Regions from separate parts of the Homo sapiens genome. Here region 1 is linked to region 2. The links are contacts of gene promoters, found by promoter capture Hi-C in human tissues and cell types (Jung and others, 2019). All regions are on one chromosome and are shown on one strand. The core of a region is centred on a gene start or on the middle of the fragment in contact, and the rest is flanking DNA. Distances in the headings are between cores, read along the strand shown. Region 1 overlaps BIVM-ERCC5 (BIVM-ERCC5 readthrough). Region 2 holds the start of BIVM (basic, immunoglobulin-like variable motif containing).

What was found. The method cuts DNA at HindIII sites, captures the fragments that hold promoters and counts their contacts. A contact is called where the count stands out against the background at its distance.
Region 1: a contact is called between a fragment that was not itself captured here and the fragment with the promoter of BIVM in region 2, in 2 of the 25 tissues and cell types used here (H1 embryonic stem cells and pancreas).

The regions. Positions count from the first base shown.
Region 1 is chr13:102,851,471-102,858,255 of GRCh38, reverse strand. BIVM-ERCC5 (BIVM-ERCC5 readthrough) reads right to left here. Exons shown (of 23, transcript NM_001204425.2): 10 at 5,963-6,138; 11 at 4,384-4,499; 12 at 3,882-3,968; 13 at 2,144-2,204. It overlaps ERCC5 (ERCC excision repair 5, endonuclease), which reads right to left. Exons shown (of 15, transcript NM_000123.4): 2 at 5,963-6,138; 3 at 4,384-4,499; 4 at 3,882-3,968; 5 at 2,144-2,204. Among named protein-coding and RNA genes, the nearest start is that of ERCC5, 8.8 kb to the right of the region's middle. The HindIII fragment of the contact is 6,096 bases long and covers 1-4,613 here.
Region 2 is chr13:102,796,135-102,802,944 of GRCh38, reverse strand. BIVM (basic, immunoglobulin-like variable motif containing) reads right to left here and starts at 3,826. Exons shown (of 11, transcript NM_017693.4): 1 at 3,424-3,826. It overlaps POGLUT2 (protein O-glucosyltransferase 2), which reads left to right and starts at 3,969. Exons shown (of 10, transcript NM_024089.3): 1 at 3,969-4,456; 2 at 5,936-6,141. The coding sequence starts at 4,275. RefSeq lists silencers at 2,200-2,629, 2,660-2,709, 3,270-3,539 and an enhancer at 3,600-3,819. The HindIII fragment of the contact is 13,413 bases long and covers 1-6,810 here.

The sequences.
Region 1 (6,785 bases), core at 316-2,815, 58 kb before region 2:
GCACCATGAAATTTACATTTCATACACTTAGTTCTATTCAACATTAAGGATATGTATTATGTTTATATAATAAACACAGTTCTACATAATCAACAATTGGCTAAACACAGTTGCATATAATCTGTGACAGGCAACAAAGTGAGTAGGCAAATTAGGGAATGTAGCCATTCACTCTTTAATTCATTCAAAAGAAAAAAATACTTAGCAGGTACCTCTAAGGCACCAGGCACTGTTCTAGGTGCTAAGGTACTGTGAGATCGGATAAGGTGCCAGATAAGGTCCCTGCTCTTAGGAGCAGAGGAGAGAAGACAATAAATAAATAAATAAATGAACAAGATAATGGTAAAATAAAGCAGATTTATCTGATATGAGAGTGATTACATGAACAGAACGTGGAAAAAAAGATCTATTTGATAGATAAAGAAGACCCCACTAAAAAGAGGATGTGTGAGCAGGGACTTGGAAGATATCAAAGAGCCTCACTGAGGATAGAGCATTTCAGGCTGAGAGAACAGAAAATGCAAGAACCCAAGACAGAATGTGCCTTAGGAATTCAAGCAATATATATCATTCCCATAATTAAGTTAGTTTTATTTTGCTTATAACATAAGAAATGAAATTAAAAGAAATTCACAGAAGACATGGAAAAGTGTAAAACTTTTCTCAACTTTAACTCATTACCAAAAGTACTTTAAAATCCTTCATTAGTAAAAAAGATAAGCTAATACAACCTGATGTCCTGCATGTCTGTATGTTACATGTGTACGTACCAACCAGCAAACACGTAGGACAGACCTGTCACTGCGCTCAGCATTTCCTGTGCTTTCCCTCACTAATGCTCCCATCACCCCCATCAGGAAGGCATTGATATCAATTTCGTTTTACAAAAAAAAATAAAGCCTTGGAGAATTTAATCTGTGTAAGATCACACAGCTAGTGAACAGTGGAGCCTGGACTGAAACGCAGGTCTTTTTGACCACGAGGCCCATGGTCTTAACTAAGATTGCTCTCACTAGCTGCATTAATAGCACAGCACCTCCGCAACCTGAAGGATCTCGAGGTTTTAGCTCAAAAGTTTCTACCTGATAGAACAAAACCATATGAACAAACAAGAAACAGTGAATTTGGGAATCAAAAAATGCTATCTGTGACACTAAGAAACTTGAAAAATGTTTATGAAAAAAATGTATATATACAGCATAATCTCAATTTGTAAAAATGTTATTCATGAAAATATGTGTGGGACATTCTTCTTGTCTAACTCTCTGCCCCTTCCATAGGGCAGTAACTAGCTTCTGAGGAACAGGATGTAGTGGGAAGGATGCTGCACAACTTCCAAAGCTAGGTCAGAAAGGCAACAGGGCTTCTGCTTAGAACTTTCTCTTGGGATGCCCACACTGGGAATACAGTCATCATGCTGGGAAAATGCCCAGGCCACGTGGAGAGGCCACAAGTAGGTGCTCTGGTGCTGGCCGCATGGAAGACTGGCTGACAGCCAGCATCAACCACCGCCCATGGCAGCAAGGAAACCTCGTTAATCACTCCAGCCCCAGCTACAGACTGGCTGCATCTACACAAGAGACCCCAGAGAGAACTGCCTGTCTGAGCTCATCTACCCCTGGAACCCAGACAGATGACGATAACAAATGATGTTTTAACCACTAAGTTACACAGCGACAGATAACTAGAACATACACACATATGTGTACACATATATATGTACACATGCACATTTGATACATATATACAAATACACACACAGATATTCAACTATATGGGGCAGGCAAAGAATGGATGAAAATATATCAAACTGTTATTACAAGTTATTTATGAATGATATGTTTTCTATATTTTCTATGTAAGCACATATTACTATTGGTTGGTTGGTTGTAAAAGAAAAATAGCTTGTTTTGAATATATAGATGTGCATAATGGCAAATTCCATATATATATATATACACGTGTGTAGGTGAGTGTGTTTTAAATACATACATGTACACATATATATGCACAACCAAAAAGCCATCTGTCTTTACTTTTTATCAGGAACTTTCACAGTTTGATATACCTCATTAATATTCATTTTCATGTCATTCATTTCAAATAACAGAATACATTCTGAATTCAAAAATGATCTAAATACCTGTAATGCTTGTTTTTGATTCATTCTTTCTTGCCATTCTTTTTCATCTTCCTCTTCTGAACTGAAAGTCAAACATACTTTTACGATATCTATGATTTTTAAGGACCCCTTACAAAAATACTTGTATGCAAGGCTCTGCTCGTTATACGGGCTACAGTGGTGAATAAAACAGCAAGATCTGTGCCACTACTGGTCTCATGGTCTGGTGGGGGACACGTGTAAGTAAGCAATTAGAGTGGGATCTAATAACTTCCACCACAAGGGAAGGGCAGGTCACTAGAGATGCAATAGGGAGTCACCTCACCCAATTTAGGAGTCACAAAAGCTTTCCAGGATCTCCTGCAATTACACTGGTTGGAGTTAGCCACGAATTAATGAGTGTAGTTGTAGGGAGCGGGAAGGTTCATGGAGAAGAGTGTTCCAGGCAAAAGAACTAAGTTGTATGACCATATAGAAACAAGGAAAAGAAAGCCTGCCTGTGGATGATGTGAAGAAAGGCAGGGATAAGACTGGAAAGTGTAATTAAGGAGTTAAAGTTTTATCCTAAAGAAATGAGAAGCTAAGCTGCGTGTGGTGGCTCACGCCTGCAATCCCAGCACTTTGGGAGGCCGAGGCAGGTGGATCACTTGAGGTCAGGAGTTCGAGACCAGCCTGGACAACATGGTGAAACCTCGTCTCTACTAAAAATACAAAAAATTAGCCAGGTGTGGTGGCACGTGCCTGTAATCCCAGCTACTCCGGAGGCTGAGGCAGGAGAATCGCTTAAACCCAGGAGGCAGGGGTTGCAGTGAGCTGAGATTGTGCCACTGCACTCCAGTCTGGGCAACAGAGACTCCATCTCAAAAAAAAAAGAAAGAAAAAAATGAGAAGGAGAAGCTAGAAAGTGTTTTAAGTAAGGAAATGACAATATCAGATTTGGATTTTAAACAGACTATAACACAAAACAGAGATTGGGCTTGGTGGGAGGAACTATTACAAAAAGGGTATGATCAAAGACAAAGACAGAAAGAAGTTTAAAAGCTAATAATGTAACCTGGAGAAAAAATGACAGTGGTAGCAATGGAGACAAATAGAACTGAGCTGATACAAAAGCTAAGTTGTCTCTTGGGAACTCCTGGGAAAGGAAGAGGTGGAGGGAAGGACAGGGGACAAAGGCAAACTGCCAAGCTTCCGGTTCTCCACCTTCACTTCAAACACAGAAACCACCAACCATTAAGAGAGAGACAGAGGAAGAGGAGTCCACAGAGAGGCTGAGCAGAAAGCGCCAGAGAGATGCCGGGGGAGCGGGGCAGTGTGGCATGGTGTTTAGTGCAGAGAAGTCGAGCACACTAAGACGTGCAAAGCGTCTGCTAGATTTAGCAACAAGAATGTCATGGGTTGTGGTATTTTAGCATCATGGTGAGAGAGACCATACTGGATTGAAAAGCAGCTAGAGACAGCATGTGTAAGCAAAGTGTAAGCAAAACTAAAATTCATGCCTTGGAGAATTTAGAATCCACAGCCCTGGCAGAAGTTCTTTAGAATGAAGAGGAATAAGAATCATGAATCACCAAAACACAAAGAATAGTAAATAAAAAATTTAGTCTTTGAAAAATATTCTGAAAGGTATAGAGCATGCCTATTTCAGATGCATTAAGAAATGTTCACATGCCTTATCATGTAGATAACACATCAAGGTTTAAATGTGTCTGAATGTAGCAATGACTAAAATAATATTCTTAAATAGTTAAACATTTACCTGTGTTTTTCTTCCTCTTGTAAAGGAGGCAAAACATAGAGGTCGTTTTCTCTTCGAACTTGGGTAAGACTGGGTAGTGCTTCATCTCTGGAAAGTACACAAATCTTTAAACAGATTATGCAGACCCTGCTCAGGATGGTGAACAGGGACCTGACCTGGCTGCTCTCAGGCCACTGCTGTGGAAAATAAATGCAGCCGAGAGAAAGGAAGGAACCTTGGCGGGGCTGCTCACCTAGAGTCAAGAAGACCATAATCAAAGTAAAAAGTGTACATGACGCAACACGACAGCTTTTTTTTCTCATTAGCAAAGTTGATTCTCACAGAACGGAGAATTGCCACAACTCCAAATTACCAGGTCAAAATGGCAGCCTACTTGTCTCATTTCACTCTCTATTTTCTGTTGAGAGTCAAAATTAGATAGGGAAAGAGAATCGCAGGAAATCAAGACAAAAATCACTTTTTTAAAACTTCATCTCTAACACGACTATAATTTTCCTCTTGCCTTTTGCTTCTGAAGGCAGTTTTGATGGCTTGTCTTTTCAAAAATGTTTTCAGAAGCTTCTCTGTCGTTTTCCTGGAGTCACTGGACGCTAAGTCCTTTCTCTGCCTTCTCTTCACCTATGAGAAGAAAGGATGTAAGATCTCACTTCAGGATATTAGACCACTAGAAACATTGCTGTGATTTATTTTCCAGAGAATTTGGTTTGTCTGAGTTTTCAGACTATGGCTGCTTTAGCATTTCCTCCTAATTGCCATATCAGTGTATATCTTCAGGTTGCTGCTACGTAAAGGACACCCAGAGTTTCCATCTATTACTTAATGGGCTACTACACAATATATTTGGGAAACTTAATTTACTTTCAGTTTCTTTTAAATGTCTTTTAATATGCCCAAGAAGTGGAAAGCTTAAATGCTTCCCAAAAGAAATTATTTATTTATTCTATAAAATGTCACAGTGACACCAAAAACAATTTCTAATATTGCTTTTTATAAACATGCATTACTTACATGTAATTCTGCCCTTCAATATTCAAGATTATATATCATGAGAAATTCTAAAATGTATAGAAATATCTTGTAAGAAATGTTCAAGTAGTGACAAATGGATAGTCCCTGTGCTTATGGCTGAATATCGGATAAAAATAACCAAGATATTCTCTTTTCCTTTCTAATCCTTCCACAAAGTACCTGATTTACAGTATGCCTTGGGTAACTGAAAACTGCAACATTCAAGACTAGACACTCTTACTGAGGCAACAAAGGTCCCCCAGCATTTATAAATGCTTTTTATTTTTATCCTATATCCTTACTTTTATCCTATATCCTCATTTAGAGAGTATCTGGTATGATTACAAAGTCATCATTTCATTACTTTGGTATTTTCAACAAATAAAAGTCATATATCCAAATGGGTGCTGTCATTTGGACTGTTTAAACATTATTTTATGTCATTTTTTTAGAGATGGGGTCTCCCTGTGTTGCCCAGGCTGGACTTGGGCTCAAGCAATCCTCCTGCCCCCGGCCTTCCAAAAACATTTTTTAAAACTACTTCCAGAACAATAAAGCAGCAACTCATTCTGACTCTTCTATATCATGGTCAATTTCCTTCCTAGATAATCCACTTTAGTCACCACTTGGCACCACATAACATTGCTTACTCCTAAAATCCAATTCCCCTTAAAAGAAGGCTTGCTATCACGGAGGATACTTGATCTCAGATTCAGGGAGGCACTTCCCAAAAGAGGGTTTCCACAGTGTTCTGAGTGATGGCCGCATCCTTGAAATAAATATAAAACACCTAACAAGATCCTCTGAAGGGAAAACTCTCAACAGCAAGGTTTTTAGTAGTTAGTTTTATTTAAAAGTTAAATTTTATCATTGTACCCATGATGAACTCTCATAAAACTTTTTAAAAGAAAAATTAATTGTTCAAGATAAAAAAGTAGATGTAATTAAGTATGTGTCAAAATAAGTCTGTTTCTAAAATTCTAAAGAGAAAACAAAAATTTTATGTGAATTTTTCTAAGAATGCAGAAAGAAAAAAATTATTTGACACTTACTAAAAACTATACGACACTTACCAAAGTCTGTTTCTTCAATAGTGGAGCATCCCCATCAAACACAAAAATAGGACGAATTCGAAAAAATAAGAGTTTGCAGAGCCGATGAAACAAAGTGAGAAGATGAGGATTTTCTATTGAGTTCCCATGGCGATCCCGGACTCCTTTAAGTGCTTGGTTTAACCAAATGCTAATATCTGGGAGAATTGTTAATGGAAAAAACTCCGGGATTTTTCTCTTCATCCTCACAACTTCAATTTCCTAATAACTGATATTATCCAAACGTTGAACACTAAATACTTATCACTATTCATTTAAAATTGAAAAACATTTAGCTCTCATGGGATCTACCTAAAGTCAGTTAACTTTTAGTTGAACTCTTGTTACCCCTATTCACATACTGCATTTTAAAATCATACAAAGACAGACATATCCTTTTAAGAAGTCTCATTGCAAAGAATTGCTTCTTTAAAAAAAAATAAGTGATTGCTAAAGAATTTTCATGAATTAGCACAAATTTTCTGGAGGACAATTTGACAATTCATAGTGAAAAAAACTTTTTAAAACTTTGCAGTCTATTTTACCACTTCCAGACATTGATCCTCAGAAAATCATCATGGATATATAATGAGAGTTATTTACAGAATGCTTGTTTATAATAATGAAAATATAAAAATCAACTTAAAAGTTTTCCAGCAGGTCTTTTTAAAAAACTAATCATAGGCCGGGCGCGGTGGCTCACACCTGTAATCCCAGCACTTTGGGAGGCCGAGGCAGGTGGATCACGAGATCAAGAGATCGAGACCATCCTGGCCAACATGGTGAAACCCCATCTCTACTAAAA
Region 2 (6,810 bases), core at 2,577-5,076:
ACAGCACTAGATTAATAAAAAGAGTAACAGTGTGAGCCAGGCACAGTGGCTCATACCTGTAATATCTATGCTTTGGGAGGCTGAGGCAAAAGAATCACTTGAGGCCAGGAGTTTGAGGCTGCAGTGAGCTATGATCACACCACTGCACTCTAGCCTGGGCAACAAAGCAAGACTCTGTCTCAAAAAAAAAAAAAAAAAAGGAAAGAGAGAAAAAAGTAACAGTCTGGTTTGTTTGTGTTTTTAGTTTGTTTGCTTTTAAATAATGGTCACGGAACAAGATGATTTATTTGGTCGAAGTTTTAGCAAAAAAAAAATGAAGATCATCAATATAAGGATGCATTTTATATTGACTGTCACTAAAATCCAAGGGCATGAAACATTCTCATTGGAAACTATATGTAAATTTCTCTTTGAAAATGTAATATTCATAGATTTTATAAGTAAAACATTACAAAAAAATGCAAAGTACCAAAAGATATTACAGGAAAATGGAAATTACCCAAATCCCACGACCCAAACACTGCTAGTGTTTACTTTCTTTCCACACTGTCTCACGTCTATTCTCTCCACTATAGTGAGAGCCCCAAGAGGCCAAGGGGGCTTCTATTATTGCATGCTCAGATTCTAGCTTTCTTAAAGTACACTAAGCACAATTTATTACTGATAATACTAATAACAGAATCATTATAGACAATACTGAGCTATAGAGAGGCAGTTTGTCCCTCCACTTAATAGGCTGCAGCTGTCACTGTTTTGACTCATCTTTTATCTCCTTTTGTTTCTCTATTTATAAACTATTCCCAGTGAGTTGACACTTCTAACCTGACCTGTGCAGAGATATTAGAAAATAAAGTTTGCTACATATATATGATCACAGAACTCCTCTGCCTGAAAGCCTCTGCTCTTAGAACAAAAGGCCAACTCCTGATGGTCCCTAGATCTATCTGGTTAGCTCCATCTCATTCCTTTCCCCCACCCCCCAAGCTCCACATTACTTTTTGGTTCTCCCAATACTGTCTCCCTTACTTAGCTCATTCCCATTCATCTTTCCAATGTCAGCTCAAATGTCACTTTCTGGGGGAAACCTTCTTGGCTTCTCAAACTAGGCCAGGTGACCCGGTACAGACTCTAGTACCTTCCTCACACAGGTCTTACCAGGTGGCAATTTTACACTTACTTCTGTGCATATCTGTTCATATGATCAACGTCTGCATCCTGCAAGTCTGGTTTTCCAGATTATTGTATCCCCAGGGCCTAGGATTTGTAGACGTCTCATTCAACAGATAATTTTTAAGTGTTTGCATCATGCCAGGCATTACTGTAGGCCCTCATTTTGATTGATTGCGGTTCCCTCTTCCAGGCAAGTGAGGTGTTGCTATATTAAGATTTACTAAGCCGGCGTGGTGGCTCACACCTGTAATCCCAGCACTTTGGGAGGCTGAGGCGGGTGGATCATCTGAGGTCAGGAGTTTGAGGCCAGCCTGGCCAACATGGTGAGACCCGTTTCTACTAAAAAAAAATAAAAAATAAAAAAATACAAAATTAGCCGTGCATGGTGGCGCATGCGTGTAGGCCCAGCTACTCAGGAGGCAAGGCTGGAGAATCGCTGAACACCAGAGGTGGAGGTTACAGTTGCACCATTGCACTCCAGCCTGGGCGATCAGAGCAAAACTCCGTCTCAAAAAAAAAAAAAAAAAAATTTACTACTAAGAATGACTGCAGGACCTCAGGCTCAACTAATAGCTTACTCATAAAATCATGTCATAAGCAATAGAAATATGGTTTGCTCGTATGCAAAGCAAAAATTTATAAAATGGCAAGTTTAAAAAGCACCGCCAGAGTCATGATTGTTCAAAGTCACTGAACGAAGTGTTCTGTAAAATAAACGTCCATTTGTAAAGCCAATCTTCATCGCCTAGGTTGTAGTCTTTTCAGGTTATATTTTGTCTGTATTCTCAAGTATCAAGTTTATGAGAGAACCAAACATCTCTAAAAACCTCTTCAGTAAAGCCTTTTCGTATAACAAAATACCCTGATCGATATCCTGTATAGAAGGCAACTGAGGAGCAGGGGCATTCCGGTGACCTCGTAAGGGTCGAATATGCGCGGGAGGGCGAAACCAGAGGCGCATAGCCCCCGGCCGAGCTAATGCCACCCTTCCCACCCGGTGTCCTCCCGCGCCCTCCAGGCCCCTTCCTCCCCTTCAGACCTGCGGGTCCCCAGAGCCGAGGCGCCAGCCTGTCAAAAGATACCGGGAGTCCTCCGCGCCTGGCGCCAGCCTCCAGCCCGCGCCCCTGGGGAGGCCGGGAGCGTTTCCACCACCGTCCTCTGACAAGCTCGCCGCTCGGCCGGGCTCCGAGGCCGCCGGGACGGAGTAGACAGTCGCGCAGGCCAAGCCCCGCCGCGCAGAACCAGTGCGCGCGGAGGCGACGCGGGCAGAGAGGAAGGAGCGCGGCTGCGCTCCCTGCCCGTGGCCAACCCAGCCCGCGCCTCCGCGCGTGTCGCGGGCACCCCGAGTCCCCAGCCCGCAGAGCCCAAGGGCCGCCGAGGCCTCCTCGCCCCTACTCCCTCCTCTACCTTCCCTCACCGGCCGGAAGACGAGGCTCTCCGCCAGGGGGAGCGCGCCGAGGCCCGGGGGTGACCGCCTCGAACATGCTTGCCCCGGGCCCCGGGGACGCTGTTGGTGTTAAAGGGGGCCCACGGGCAATTGCTGCATCCGGGCTAAGAGCTGGGGCTCCGATTCGACTGTTTGAGTAAACGAGTCGGTATCATTAATAATGACAATTGCACAAAAGAAAATAGGAAAGAAACCCCCTTTCCTGGCGCCGAACCAGGCCCGCCTTGGCTCGGAGCCACCGGCTCTTCTGGGTTTTCGGGGCAGCTGGCAAGAGGGAGGCAGGCAGAGGAGGCGGCTCCGGGTCCGACTGCCAAGCTGACCAGGGCGGTGAGCCCGTGACTCCTGGCGGCGGCCCAGACCCGGGTGCTGGCGTGCAGGGGAAGGCGACGGCCGCTGCGCGCTGGTTCCCGGACCCTGCCCAGCGTGGCGTGGAGACCGACGGCCGCACAGGGGTCACCGGTATCCACATGGACACCTCCTAATCGAGCTTTGTTCACCAGAGGGCTAGGCCCTTCTTTCCCTGGCGCTTCTCTTCCCCCCGCGACACAGCTCTTCCCCCTACTCCTTCCCGGGAGAGCGCGCACCCATGCAGTGGCCTCCATCTGGACGCCACGGGGCTCGGAGAGGCGATGACCCCTGGCAGCCCAGGCCGGTATCGAATTAAGTAAAAATTTTGAATGCCCAGGTGGCTGCGCGTAGAGCGGCAGCAGGCCGGGCTGGCGGCGCCCAGGTGCCCAGCGGAGGGCCAGGCGCTCAGAGCGCACAGCCGGCCGCCACCTCGGCCCCTGCCCCCCGCCCCGGGGTACCTCTGGCCTGTCGGGTGGGGTCGGGTCGCTGCGGCCGCGGCGGAACCCGGCTCCGGACCTGGATCACAGCATCCAGCGCGCGGCCGGCGAGGCGCCTCCTGTTACCCTGGGGCCGGCGTCCCTCGTCCCATCGGAGCGAGCGAGGATGCTGCGGTGCCCGGCGACAGGTCGTCGGATAGCATTGACAGCACCTTCCTTTCAAGGTGCTTTATGCCTGCCCTCTCCACGTGCGGAGGGCAGGGTGACCAACGCAAAAACCTGAGCTGCGCCTCCAGACCCGTGCGCCCCTTTGATGGGCATCTGTGGTGTTTATCTGTCCCCCGAAAGCGGTGACCGAGAAGTAAATAAATGGGCGAGAGGTGGTAAAATCCTGGCAGTATTTCCGCTCGTCCTGTCGCGAACTACATATCCCAGGGAGCCCGGGGCGCCGGGACGCGTGTCCACCCCGCCATCCACTTGGAGAAGGCGTTACTGAGCCTGGCCCGACGCACGGGCCAATCCCCTCGCCCTACACCTTGGCTGGAACCTGAGACGGATTCGCTCCCAAATGATGCTCCAGTGGCAGGAGCAACTCAAGTTCATCATTGTCCTGAGAGAGAGGAGCAGCGCGGTTCTCGGCCGGGACAGCAGAACGCCAGGGGACCCTCACCTGGGCGCGCCGGGGCACGGGCTTTGATTGTCCTGGGGTCGCGGAGACCCGCGCGCCTGCCCTGCACGCCGGGCGGCAACCTTTGCAGTCGCGTTGGCTGCTGCGATCGGCCGGCGGGTCCCTGCCGAAGGCTCGGCTGCTTCTGTCCACCTCTTACACTTCTTCATTTATCGGTGGATCATTTCGAGAGTCCGTCTTGTAAATGTTTGGCACTTTGCTACTTTATTGCTTCTTTCTGGCGACAGTTCCAGCACTCGCCGAGACCGGCGGAGAAAGGCAGCTGAGCCCGGAGAAGAGCGAAATATGGGGACCCGGGCTAAAAGCAGACGTCGTCCTTCCCGCCCGCTATTTCTATATTCAGGCAGTGGATACATCAGGGAATAAGTAAGTCGAGAAACGGCTCCTTACCTATTTTGGATGGCGGTTAAATCTGTTTCTCCCTTTAAGATTTTTCTTTCCAAGAACTCGTTTCTCCACAGCAGTTTATATTCCAGGATATTTGGTTACCCATTTTTCTCTGTAGCTGTAGAAATTGTTCCGAATTATAATATATGCAATATAATGTATTGTATATAACATATAAAATAATCTCCTAGCAATTTTGATTCAGATTCCCACATTATCAGGGCAAGACAAAGTCCCTCCACTTTGCTGGAAATACTGTTTCTAACTACTTTTCGCATAAGCTATTATAAGGGATTTAAACCTAGTTGTTAGAGACTTGATGGGCTTCATCTTTCTCTGGTGCGGCCCTCAATTTTCAAGGAGACATCTGCAGGTAAGCATGTTTTGAAACTGAAAAAGAAAAATGAAGTACTATTTGAAACTTCAGAGTTCGGAAGGAAAGTATCGAAGTATTAATCTCCTATATGATTGTAACAAATATTTTGTTCCAATGAATTTAATACTTTAACATCATACTTAAAACTTATTTTTATAATTCCTATACTTCTGAAATGATTGTCTCTATTATTGGTGGATGCTGACTGTGTGTATTTCATACAGAAAAAAATACTGGAATAAAAGGTTGTCAAGTAAAAGGCAGGTTGTAAATTTTGTTATTTGGCAAAAGATGATACACTACCTACTACTTTGCTTTTGCCCATGGCTGAGCGTGAGTTTTTTTTTTTTAAGACAGGGTTTCACTTCCTAGCCTAGTCTGGAGTGCAGTGGTGCAATCACAGCTCACTGTACCCTCAACCTCCCAGGCTGAAGCTATCCTCCCACCTCAGCCTCCCTAGTAGTTGGGACTACAGGCGTGTGCCACCTCGCCTGGCTATTTGTTTTTTATTATTATTATTATTATTTGTAGAGACAGGATCTCACCTTGTTGCCCAGGCTGATCTCGAACTCCTGGCCTCAAGCAGTCTTCCCTCCTTGGCCTCCCAAGATGTTGAGATAGTAGGCATGGGCCACAGTGCCAGGCCTGAGCGTGATTTATAATACTGATATTGTAAAGATTCATTGGCAGAGATTTTTCAAAATAAGATCATTATCTTTGGGAGCATCATTTGATCACAAATATCCAGATGTGATAGCATGAAATAAGTTAGTAAGAATATTTTTCCATATGGAATGCATGAGTATGTTCTGTGCTTATATAGATTAATAGTCTTAACATACTCCATTGTGACTGTTTAATGAAACTGTTTCATGTTATCTTGGCCATTGTCATCCTCATTTTTTTAAATCTCTGATCCATCATATTCATTCTGGTACTAAAAGCATAAGAGAAGAAGAAGCAATCATATGTTAGAGGAAGAATGTGGAGGAGAATAATCAAGTTTCCAGACTGAAGAGCATAACCTTTGTGTGTTTGTTCGTTAAAATCTGTTTATCTCCCCCATTGCCTTTTCATCACAGATTCACATCTTCTCCAGGCGAAAAGGTCTTCCAGGTGAAAGTCTCAGCACCAGAGGAGCAATTCACTAGAGTTGGAGTCCAGGTTTTAGACCGAAAAGATGGGTCCTTCATAGTAAGATACAGAATGTATGCAAGCTACAAAAATCTGAAGGTGGAAATTAAATTCCAAGGGCAACATGTGGCCAAATCCCCATATATTTTAAAAGGTAATTTGGAATATAATTTTATAACAGCAGTATTTGAATAAAATAATATATGTTATTCCATCAACAAAAACAACTTGGCATGATATATATATATATATATATATTTTTTTTTTTTTTTTTACTGAAAGAAGAAAAATAAAGGCTTTCTACTTGAAAGCTAAGTTATGAGTCCTGGTAAAAAGACATTCAAGATTTGAACGGAAATTCTGATTTGCTAAAGAGCAAGGAACATATTAGTAGAGAATTTACTCCGCGAAGACATACATTAGCAAGAATAATCAAGCTGTGTTCATGCTCATATATGATACTTTCTTAATTGGAAATATATGACTTAAGTAACTGATAAGTGTTATTGAAATTAGGTAGATCACTTCAGGAAGGGAGATAGCTCGAAAGACAAGGAGCGCACTGGTGGTTGTTTTTTTGTCTTTGTTCCAATGCCATTTTCCCAGAGAAATTCTCTGACATTTATTTATTTATTTATTTATTTATTTTTTTTTTTTTTTTTTTGAGGCAGAGTCTCGCTCTGTCACAAGGCTGGAGTGCAATGGCGCAGTCTTGGCTCACTGCAAGCTCCGCCTTCCGGGTTCAAGCGATTATCCTGCCTTAGCCTCCCATGTAGCTGGGATTACAGGCACGCACCACCATGCCAGGCTAATTTTTGTATTT